Regions from separate parts of the Homo sapiens genome. Here region 2 is linked to region 1. The links are contacts of gene promoters, found by promoter capture Hi-C in blood cells and fetal thymus (Javierre and others, 2016). All regions are on one chromosome and are shown on one strand. The core of a region is centred on a gene start or on the middle of the fragment in contact, and the rest is flanking DNA. Distances in the headings are between cores, read along the strand shown.

Evidence for each region. The method cuts DNA at HindIII sites, captures the fragments that hold promoters and counts their contacts. A CHiCAGO score of 5 or more calls a contact.
Region 2: a fragment that was not itself captured here is called in contact with the fragment with the promoter of ZNF580 in region 1 in 3 of 17 cell types (total CD8 T cells, total CD4 T cells and activated CD4 T cells); the score reaches 9.0 in total CD8 T cells.

Annotation. Positions count from the first base shown.
Region 1 is chr19:55,636,804-55,642,405 of GRCh38, forward strand. It overlaps ZNF580 (zinc finger protein 580), which reads left to right and starts at 4,199. Exons shown (of 2, transcript NM_207115.2): 1 at 4,199-4,380. It overlaps LOC107983998 (a long non-coding RNA gene), which reads left to right. Exons shown (of 2, transcript NR_171683.1): 2 at 3,323-3,996. It also overlaps a transcript of ZNF581 not described here. RefSeq lists a silencer at 4,049-4,568. The HindIII fragment of the contact is 9,119 bases long and covers 1,345-5,602 here.
Region 2 is chr19:55,107,319-55,112,879 of GRCh38, forward strand. It overlaps PPP1R12C (protein phosphatase 1 regulatory subunit 12C), which reads right to left. Exons shown (of 22, transcript NM_017607.4): 2 at 5,347-5,477; 3 at 5,149-5,267. Among named protein-coding and RNA genes, the nearest start is that of PPP1R12C, 7.5 kb to the right of the region's middle. The HindIII fragment of the contact is 402 bases long and covers 4,111-4,512 here.

The DNA.
Region 1 (5,602 bases), core at 2,949-5,448:
GGCCAGGAAGGAGTCACTCTTGTGAGGGGCTGAAAGGAACATCACAGAGAGGGGAGGAGCTAGCACAAAAGCTCTCCAGATGGGAGAGGCTGGTGCACTGGGCAAGGGAAAGCCAGCACCATGGTGCCCAGAAGGGAAGGCAGCTGGGGGGCCAGTCTACGCAGGGCCTTGCAGAGTGTCTGGGTTTACTCTAAGGGCAGAGGGGAAGGTTTTGATCATGACGCACTGCAGTCTGAAACTCCTGGGCTCAGGCAATCCTGTCTCAGCTTCCTGGGTAGTTGGGACTGTAGGCAGGCACCACCACCTCTGCCTAATTATTATTATCATTTTTTTTGGAGAGACAGGGTCTCAATATGTTGCTGTGTCTCAGAGGGGAAGGTTTTAAGTCAGGGAATGATTCTGTGAGCTTAAAAAATCACTTGGAAATTGCCATAGGGAAGGGAGGGAGAAGGCCAGGCATGGTGGCTCACGCCTATAATCCCAGGACTTTGGGAGGCTGAGGCAGGCGGATCGCTTGAGGCCAGGAGTTCGAGACCAGTCTGGGCAACAGGGTGAAACCCTGTCTCTTCTAAAATTACAAAAAATTAGCCGGCCATGGTGGTGCGCGCCTGTAATCCCAGCTACTCAGGAGGCTGAGGCGGGAGAATCGCTTGAACCTGGGAGGTGGAGGCTGCAGTGAGCTGAGATCGTGCCACTGTACTCAAGCCTGGGCGACAGAGTGAGACTCTGTCTGAAAAAAGACACAGCAACAAAAAAAACGAGAGGGGAGGGAGAGAGTGATGGAGGCGGAGGCTGCTGCTGCTATAAGCTGGGCGTAAGTGGTGGTGGTTTGCGCTGGGGTGGCAGCGGCGATGGTGGGATTACAGGGAAGTGTGTGGCTTGCTGACAGGGGTCATGTGCACTGACCTGGTGTGGGCAGAGGCAGGTGCTATCCTGGCCATCCCGCCTGCGGATGTGTGACCTCAGGCCAATCACACGATCTCTTTGAGCTCTGCTTCCCTCATCTGTAAAACAGGGATCCTCATGGTGCTTTCCTTGTAGCTCTGCCCTGAGGATGCTGTGCGTTTAGCAATGGCTGTTCCCGAGTGAGGGCTCAATAAATGTTGCTTATTGTTGTCATTATTTCTGGGGATAGCAGTGGGGGTGGGGGTTGTGGCCACTACAGTGCCACTAGTTATATGGTCTGAAACTCAAGAGAGGGATTGTGTTAGTTTCATTGTGTCTCTATGAGTGAATACCTGAGGCTGGGTAATTTATAAACAAAAGAAGCTTAATTGGTTTACGGTTCTGCAGGCTATACAGGACGTGTGGTCCTGGCAGCTGCTTCTGGCGAGGGCTTCAGGAAGCTTACAATCATGGTGAAAGGTAAAGGGGTAGTTGGCATATCTCATGGTGGGGGGAAAAGACTGGCAGGAGGTGACACGCTTTTTTGTTTGTTTGTTTGTTTGTTTGTTTAGATGGAGTCTTGCTCTGTTGCCAGGCTGGAGTGCAGTGGCACAATCTCGGTTCACTGCAACCTCTGCATCCCGGGTTCAAGTGATTCTCCTGCCTCAGCCTCCCAAGTAGCTGGGACTACAGGCGCCTGCCACCACGCCCAGCTAATTTTTGTGTTTTTAGTAGAGACCAGGTTACACCGTGTTGGCCAGGATGGTCTTGATCTTGACCTCGTAATCTGCCCGCCTCGCCCTCCCAAAGTGTTGGGATTACAGGCGTGAGCCACCACGCTCAGCCTGACATGCTCTTTTAAACAACTAGATCTCATGTGAACTCAGCGAGATCTCACTCATTACCTCGAGGATGGCACCAAGCCATTCATGAAGGATCCACCCCCATGATCCAAATGCCTCCCACCAAGCCCCGTCTCCAACACTGGGGATTACATTTCAACATGAGATTTGGAGGAGGCCAGGTGTGGTGGCTCAACCCTGTAATCCCAGCACTTTGGGAGGCTGAGGCAGGTGGATCACCTGAGGTCAGGAGTTGGAGACCAGGTGGCTAATATGGTGAAACCTGTCTCTACCAAAAATATAAAATTGTTATATTTTATATAATACAGCTGGGCGTGGTAGTGCATACCTGTAATCTCAGCTATTTGGGAGGTGGAAACAGGAGAATCACCTGAGCCCGGGAGTTGGAGGTTGCAGTGAGCCTAGAATTGCGCCACTGCACTTTAGCCTGGGCAACAGAGCAAGACTCCATCTCCAAAAAAAAAAAAAAAAAAGAAAAAAAAAAGATTTGGAGGGGACAGACATCTTAACTATATCAGGGATCTTGGCAAGACACTCAGGTTGGATAATTGTCTAAGTAGACCAGGGGTTCTCAGCTAGGAGCCATGTTGCCTCCTAGAGGACACGGGCAATGTGTAGAGACATTTTGGGTTGTCACAACTTGGGGTTGGGGGAGGGTGCTACTGCCATCTGGTGGGTGGAGGCCAAGGATGCTGCTCAACACTCTACAGTGCACAGGATGGGCCCCCACAACAAAGAGTGGTCCGGCTCAAAATGTGTGGTGGCCCACGCCTGTAGTCCCAGCTGTTTGGGAGACTGAAGTGGAAGGATCACTTGTGCCTGGGAGGGTGAGGCTGCAGTGAGCCAGAAGCATGCCACTGCACTCCAGCGTGGGCGACAGAGTGAGACTCTGTCTCAAAAAATATACATACTGCCCAGTAAAATGTTTAAAAAGTACCTTGTGTCCCAAACCAAATATAACTGTGAGGCCTTTTGGGCCCTTGGGCCTCCAGTTTACAACTGGTTGACAGTGGTCTCTGGAATTGTTCCATAAGGTAGGAGCCATATGTGGCTTAAATTTTGATTATGGGAAATTAGTATTTTTTGAGACAGTCTCCCTCTGTTGCCCAGGCTGCAGTATAGTGGCACGATCTTGGCACACTGCAACCTCCACCTCCTGGGTTCAAGCGATTCTCCTGCCTCAGCCTCCCAAGTAGCTGGGACTGTAGGGGAGCACCACTACGGCCGGCTAATTTTTGTACTTTTAGTAGAGAAGGAGTTTCACCATGTTGGCCAGGCTGGTCTCGAACTCCTGACCTCAGGTGATCCGCCCGCCTTGGCCTCCGAAAGTGCTGGGGTTACAGGTGTGAGCCACCGTGCTGATTATGGGAAATGTAATACAATTTAAAATTCAGGTCCTCTGATACACCAGCCACATTTCAAGAGTGTAAGAGTCCCACGTGGCTAGTGACTGTCATAGAACTTTCCACCATTGCAGAAAGTTCTGATGGACAGTGCTCTAGGATGTAGCTGTGGCACCCCAGGGTCTTGGGGCTCGCTGTGACAGTTACTCCTCTTCTGTCCCCCACTCTCAGCTGCACCTGCAGATGCTGCTGCTGCCGCCCTCCTGCGAGGCCGTGGCGCCACGTGGCTGGAGGAGGAGCTGCAGCTGCCCCGAGTGCTGCCGCGTGTGCAGCTCTCCAGTGCGGCTGCAGCGCCACCGCGCGTTGCTTTCGACGCCGGAGTCCTTCGCATGCGCAGCCAGCGCCCGGGCCTCAAGTGCCCCAGGACCTGGCGCAGCCCGCGAGCCCGCATCAGGCTTCCAGTGGGCCCCGTGGGCAGTGCCAGCCTTTCCCACCTCCGCATCTGGCAAAGCCTGGCCTTCGCTGCGCTTCGGTGTCGCCACATGCCTTCTGGAAATATCACACCTCCCCACCTGCGCATGCAGCCGTCTGGCCCTCTGTGGGCCTCGGTTCCCGCATGTGCCCCGTGGAAAGAACATACCTTCCCCAACTATCTGGCAGCGTCTGGCCTTCTCCGGGCCTCGGCCTCCCCATTTGCTGGGTGGAGAATCACGGCCCGGCCACATCGGAGCCAATGGCTGGTCTCTGGACCTCGGTCTCCACATTTGCTCAGCCGGCAGGAACATCCCTTCTCCCGCCCTCTACCTCGGTGGGTGGCCACGGCCGAGCAGGCAGCGACGGCCCAGTGGAAAGAGGACAAACCCTTGTGGGCCTTAGGGCGAAGACGTAACTTTGCTTAGTCTCGGTTTATTGGCCGATCTCTTGTCAAGCGGCGGAATCGTTCCGTTCGGGAGGTGGGAGGGGAGCGGGGCCGCCGGGGGCGGGCGTCTTCAGTGGACCCCACGCCTCCGGTCCCCTCCCCGCAGGGCGCTCCGCAGAGGCGAGGGGTGGGAGCGCCGGCTCCAGGCGGCGGAACCTCCGCACTGGGCTCGCGCGCTTCCGGCCGGCGCCTTTTCCCAGGGACTCCGCCAACCCCTCGCACCCCCGCGCCCCCAGTCCCCGCGTCCCCGGCGCCGCCGGCCCGGAGCTGCCCGGAAGTCTCGGTTCCGCCGCCGGCGCTCGCCAGGGGAAGCCCGGGGCCGCCCGGGACCTCGGCCCGTTCCTCCGGACCCGAGAGGCCGCCGCACGGGGTACGGGGGCCGGGATGGAGGGAGGAGCCTGGCCCTGGGACGACGCCGGGGCCAGGCAGGCTGGGGGAGTGCGCTGGAGCCACCCGGGATGGGGGTGGGGGTCGGGAGCGGCAGGATCGGGCGGAGGGACGGGAGGGGAAGTCGAGGCGCCAGGGCTCCTTGGGGAAGTGAAGGCAATAGGAGGGGCCCCAGGGCCAGGGGACAGGCGGTGTGTAGCGGGATGGGGGCGAAAACGCCCGGGCGCTGGGGTTCCCATAAACAAGGGGAGCAGAGCAAAAGAACGGGCGGGGGACCACGCTGTGTGTAACAGGGAGAGGGATGGGGCTCCTGGAAGAGGTGAACACGAGGAGAAAGAGAGATGCCAGACGTACACAGAAAGGAGGGGAAAGTGGGCTTGGGAGAGGTGCTGTGGGAAGCGGAGTCCCGGAGCCTGGTGTGCATAACGGGGTTTGGGAGAAGGCCCCTGATGGGTACAGAAAGAAGTAACGATGTCACCGCCATATATGGGGGGCGAGAGAAAAGGGGGCCTTTGGGGAGAATGTAGCAGGTAGCCAGGTTGGGGGGGCGGGGTATACAGAAGGAAGGCATTTGAGCCATTTTGGGGTGTATAGATGTAGTAAGACGATGGGTTCCGTAGTGGGGAGAGGTGACTAGACTTCGAGGTGCTAAGTGTAGGAACAGGATGGAAAAGCCCTAGTGAAATGTGGGGAATTGGGTTAGTGGGGCTCTGGGGAGGTACCTAGAGAGGAAGTGAGGGAGGCCACGGAATATGAAGATGGGGAGGCCCTGCGGCATGTAGTGGGGACGGAGGGCCAGGAGGCCGATACGGGGGCCGGTGGGGGGGTAGGGGGCGGCAAAGGGAGGGGAAGTAAACTGAACTGGGGCTGGGCAACAGGAAAAAAGAAGAAACCACAGATTAGAGAAATCTCGGCGGTCAGGAGGCCCGGGGTCTAAGATGTAAAGAGGTAAACAGATTTAGGGATTGATTGTCTGCTGGGGTGGGTTGAGAGGAGAAAAGGGAAGAAAAGTCGGGGGACTACGTCCTCAGACCTGACCTGAGTGGTGAGAGGTGGACCCAGGAGGAGTGGCAGGTGGTGGCGGGGTTTTGCAGAGCTCAGTTGGAGGCCCTCTCCGAGGCAGCTTGATGGAACGTGGGAGAGCCGGGCTGGAGTCACAGTTTTTATTTTGCTAGGGAGGTAGTCAGTGGCGCACAAAGGGTAAC
Region 2 (5,561 bases), core at 3,062-5,561, 530 kb before region 1:
CAGGAGACTTGCTTGAACCCGGGAGGCAGAGGTTGCAGTGAGTCAAGACCATGCCACTGCACTCCAGCCTGGGCAACAAGAGTGAAACTCCATTGCTGCTGTTTTTCACAATAGCAAAGACTTGGAACCAACCCAAATGTCCATCAATGATAGACTGGATTAAGAAAGTGTGGCACATATACACCATGGAATACTATGCAGCCATAAAAAAGGATGAATTCATGTCCTTTGTAGGGACATGGATGAAGCTGGAAACCATCACTCAGCAAACTATCGCAAGGACAGAAAACCAAACACTGCATGTTGTCACTCATAGGTGGGAAATGAACAATGAGAACACTTGGACACAGGAAGGGGAACATCACACACTGGGGCCTGTCGTGGGGTGGGGGGAGGGACAGCATTAGGAGATATACCTAATGTAAATGACGAGTTAATGGGTGCAGCACACCAACATGGCACATGTATACATATGTAACAAACCTGCATGTTGTACACATGTACCATAGAACTTAAAGTATAAATTAAAAAAATAAAAAATAAAAATAAAAATAAAGAAACTCCATCTCAGAGTGAAAAAAATGTGGTAAAATACACACAGTATAAAATTTACCATCTTTTTTTTTTTTTTTTGAGATGCTGAGTCTTGCTCTGTTGCCCAGGCTGGAGTGCAGTGGTGAGATCTCGGCTCACTGCAACCTCCATCTCCTGGGTTCAAGCAATTCTCCTGCCTCAGCCTCCCGAGTAGCTGGGACTATAGGTGTACATCGCTATGCCCGGCTAACTTTTATATTTTCAGCAGAGACGGGGTTTCACCATGTTGGCCAGGCTGGTCTCAAACTCCTGACCTCAGGTGATCTGCCCACCTCGGCCTCCCAAAGTGCTGGATTACAGGCCTGAGCCACCGCGCCCAGCCTAAAATTTACCATTTTAACCCCAATTCAGTGGCATTAAGTAGTCACAATTGGTTGTTGTGCAACCAATCTCCAGAATTTTTTCATCTTGCAAAATTAAAATCGTGTACCCTAGGTCAGGGACAATGGCTCACACCTGCAATCCCAGCACTTTAGGAGGCCAAGGTGGGTGGATCACTTGAGCTCAAGAGTTCCAGACTAGCTTGGGCAACGTGGTGAAACCCCGTCTCCACAAAAAATATAAAAATCATTTTAAAAAATGTGTACCCACTAAACTACTTCCTATTCTCCCCACTCCTCCCAGTCCCTGACTACAGCCATTCTACTGTCTGTCTCCATTATTTTGACTATTCTGGGTACCTCACAGACGTGGAATCAGACAGTAATTGTCCTTCTGTGACTGGCTTATTTTCACTTTTCACTTAGCATAATGTCCTCAAGATACATCTACATTGTGTGTTTTTTGTTTTGTCTTGTTTTGTTTTTTGTTTTGAGACACAGTTTCCTCTTGTTGCTCAGGCTAGAGTGCAGTGGCACGATCTTGGCTCACCACAACCTCCACCTCCCAGGTTCGAGTGATTCTCCCGCCTCAGCCTCCTGAGCAGCTGAGGTTACAGGGATGTGCCACCACCCCTGGCTAATTTTGTATTTTTAGTAGAGACAGAGTTTCTCCATGTTGGTCAGGTTGGCCTCAAACTCCCGACCTCAGGTGATCCGCCCGCCTCGGCCTCCCTAAGTGCTGGGATGAAGACTGAATCATGTCCCACCGCATGGATGGGCCACATGTTGATTTTCCATTCATTCGATGATGGGCACTAGGTTGCTCCTACCTCTGGGCTATTGTGAACGATGCTATGAACACGGGTATATAAATTGCCTTTTTTGTTTTGGTTTATTTGGTTGAGACAGGGTCTTGCCCCCAGGCTGGAGTGACCGTGGTTCACTGCATCTTCCACCTCCCAGGCTCAAGCAATCTTCTCACCTCAGCCTACTGAGTAGCTGGGAGCGTACGTGCATTCCCACGCCTGGCTAATGTGTTTTGTTTTATAGAGATGGGTTCTCACTAGGTTTCCCAGGCTGGTCTCAAACTCCTGGGCTCAAGAGATCCTCCCATCTTGGCCTCCCAAAGTGCTGGGCTTACAGGTCTGAGCCACTGTGCCAGGCCTCAAATGGCCTTTTCCGGCCTGAGCCAGGAGGAACGGGTTTTGGTTCTTGCAAAGAGTCATGCCCGATTCAGCCCCTGAGTCGACTGGGCCAGAGGACTTTGCGGTGTTGGAGGGAGCGGTGGCTCCAGGCCACGAGGTGACTGGCTGAGCAGATCACGTGCTCTCACTGAACCCCAGACCCAGAGAGAGGAAAACAGCAAGTAAGCCAGGGAAAGCGAAGGGGATGGTCGTGCCTGAGGCCGGTCTGTCTTCTCTCCCAGCCCTGCCTGTGAGTGGCTGCCAGGGCCACACTATGGCCAGAGCCAGTCTGGATGCCAGCACCTCGGGGAATTCTGCATCATGTGGGCGTGTCCTGCAGGGGGTGCAAAAGACCCGCCCTCCTTAGAGCTGGGGTGCAGCCTGTGATCCAGGTCCTGCGCACTGCAGCCCCTCTGAGGCTCCTGTGTGGAGCCGGGTGTCACAGGGTGTCACAGGCAGTCGCCTTGTGATTTGGGGCCGCAGAGTCCCACCCCGAGCAGCACGGCTGAGGGTCTTTCCAGTGGCCCCAGTGGTCTTCGTTCCTGGCTGATCCTACAAGCCAATATCCCCCACCAATGTATCCCTCCCAGCCTTCTCCTCACCCCACGGGAGGGAAGAAGCATGGCCCCCTCTGAGAAGCTGATGCAAGTTATGAGCAATTTCTGCAGGAAAATACAACGTCAGAAAGTTCACAGACCCCCTGGAGGCCATTCCCGGCCTCCCTGGGGTCCAAGGGAAAAGGAGGACTGATCCAGACAGAGGGAGCCTAAATCACCCAGATCTGGATCCCTAGCTGGGCCCTGAACCAGAGCGGGAGAGGCTACAAAGAATGTCAAGGAGAAACGCAGGCAACAGTGTAGCATCAAGGTTGGTGCAGTGGGTGAGAGTGTAGCATCAAGGTTGGTGCGGTGGGTGAGAGTGTAGCATCAAGGTTGGTGCGGTGGGTGAGAGTGTAGCATCAAGGTTGGTGCGGTGGGTGAGAGTGTAGCATCAAGGTTGGTGCGGTGGGTGAGAGTGTAGCATCAAGGTTGGTGCGGTGGGTGAGAGTGTAGCATCAAGGTCAACACAGGGGGTAGCGTGTTGCATCCCTACTGTGGTTCTGCAGGAGGTTTTCCTTGTGGCAGGAGATACCTGCTGTGCATCAGGCGAAGATGTACAATGCCTGCAACACAGTCTCAGAATGGCCGGGCTCACGCCTGTAATCCCAACACTTTGCGAGGCCGAGGCCAGCAGATCGCCTGAGGTCAGGAGTTGGAGACCAGCCTGGTCAACATGGTGAAACCCCATCTCTATTAAAAATGCAAAATTAGCTGGGCATGCTGGCTCACGCCTGTAATCTCAGCTACCCAGAAGCTGAGGCAGGAGAATCGCTTGAACCCAGGAGGTGGAGGTTGCAGTGAGCCGAAATCATGCCATTGCACTCCAGCCTGGGCAAAAAGTGAAACTCTGTTTCAAAAAAAAAAAAAAGGCTCAGGAATGGAAAGGCAGGGGTGGGGTGGTAAGAAAGGAAGGGAGAGATGGAGGGAAAAAAACAGGAGGAGAAAGGATAGGAAAAAATGTGTTTATGTCTATACCTGGGAAGAGATCGCAAGGGAGGGACAGAGAGAAGGAACACAAATCTATCAAAAAGTTAAAAGCTGATGATTCTATACTGTATGATTCCCTTTATGTGAAGTGTACAAAACAGCAAATCCACAGACAGAAGGCAGAGAGGGCTTCGTGGGGTGGGGGGGAGGGGGGGGTGCATGGTTGGGGGTGATGGCTAAGCGGTTGCAGGGTTTCGTTGGGGGATGATGAAAATGTTCTACAACCAATGTGGTCATAAATGCCCGACCCCGTGAATAGACTAAAAAGCACTGAAGTGTGCACTTTGGGTGAATTGTAGGGTAGGTGAATTACATCTCAAAAAGCTGTCTAAAAAACAAAAACAAAAAAGAAAAAGCACTGGCGAATCTTAGTGAAAGTCATATGGGTAGTCACATGCTATTGCTTCAACTTTTCTGTAAATCTGAAGCTTTCCCAAAATAAAAAGTTGGAGGAGGAAGGAGACAGAATCCAGGTCCAGGGCTGATTTGACCCACTCCCCATTTCAACCAAAGAGGGGCTCCCGAACCTCAGATCTCCGCCGTCACGTGTCCCACTAGCTAGTCCTCCCGCATGGCTCTCGTGGACCCCTGAACCCACGCGGAATCCTATCCTTTCAGCCTGGCCAGCGGCCCCGTCAGGACAGCCGCGTCAGAAGTCTCGGAGGCTGCCGGTATCTCATTTCCTCGTCAGTCTCCCTTTCCTTCCACACGGTCCCCTGGAGTCTGCCGGGAACCATGCTCACACCCTTCCACTCCAACCCAGCCAGACCCTGACAACCACCCCATGAAGCGGCACCAGTGGTCCTGTTTTAGGAAATCAGGGAAGCAAGCTTCAGGGACGTGCCTGGAGTCACCAGTCACAGGCAGAGCTGGGAGGCAAGCCCAGGACTTTAGAAGACATGCTGGGGACCCAGGGATCCTGTGTGGCCATCACACACCTGCTAGAAGCAACACCCCTTCCCTAGAAAAATGAACCTGGCCAGACACAGTTTCAGGGGCTCCTGGACCCCATATGAAGGCTCCTGGGGTACGATGAGTCTCAGAGGACAGGGAGACCAGTCCCTGGCAACCCCTGCATGCCCCTACTCCCCCCCAAGTAAACGCATCCCCTCCCAGAAAGACCTGCGGCAGGGTTCCAGCAATCCTACCTAACGCACTCCTGGGTGAGTCCCTCCACCCACCCACCCCGCCCCGGCATTCCAATCCCCTCAGTTACTCAGGGGGATTGACAGTCCCAGTTGGTAGGGGTTTGAGTTCTCATCCTGTGCGTGTGCTGGGCTCCAAGCAATCCTGGAGGCAGGCCCCTACACCCCCATTTCACAGGTGAGGAAACTGAGGCACAAAGAAAGACAATCCTAGGAAGCAGGGTCAGCCTCGGTGCCCAGGCCGCCTCTAAAGCTCTCAGCCTGGAGACCACGGGTGAGGAGGTGTCCCCCACCCCACACACAGCACACCAGAGCCCACCTCGGCGGGCGATCTCCGCCTTCAGCAGCCCCTCCATGGCGTCCGACTCGGCCAGGTCCAGGGGCAGGTCCCCGTCACTGTTGACGGCGGCGATGTTGGCCCCGTGGCTCAGGAGGTACCTGGGGGTGGGGGCTGGTCAGGGCTGAGGGTCCAGGCCCCCACCCCGACCAGGTCCTGCCCGGCCCTCCCTTGCCTCACCTGGCGATATCTAGGTAGCCACAGGAGGCGGCCACGTGCAGTGGCGTCCAGCCCTCGTTGTCTGCCTGGTTCACAGTGGCGCCCTGCTCCACCAAGAAGCGCACCACCTCCAGGTTCTCATCAATGCAGGCCTGGGGGTGGGAAACAGCCGTCAGCCGCACCTACCCCAGCCACGGTGTCCCAGCAAGTCGGGACTCCAGAGGGAGCCACGAAAA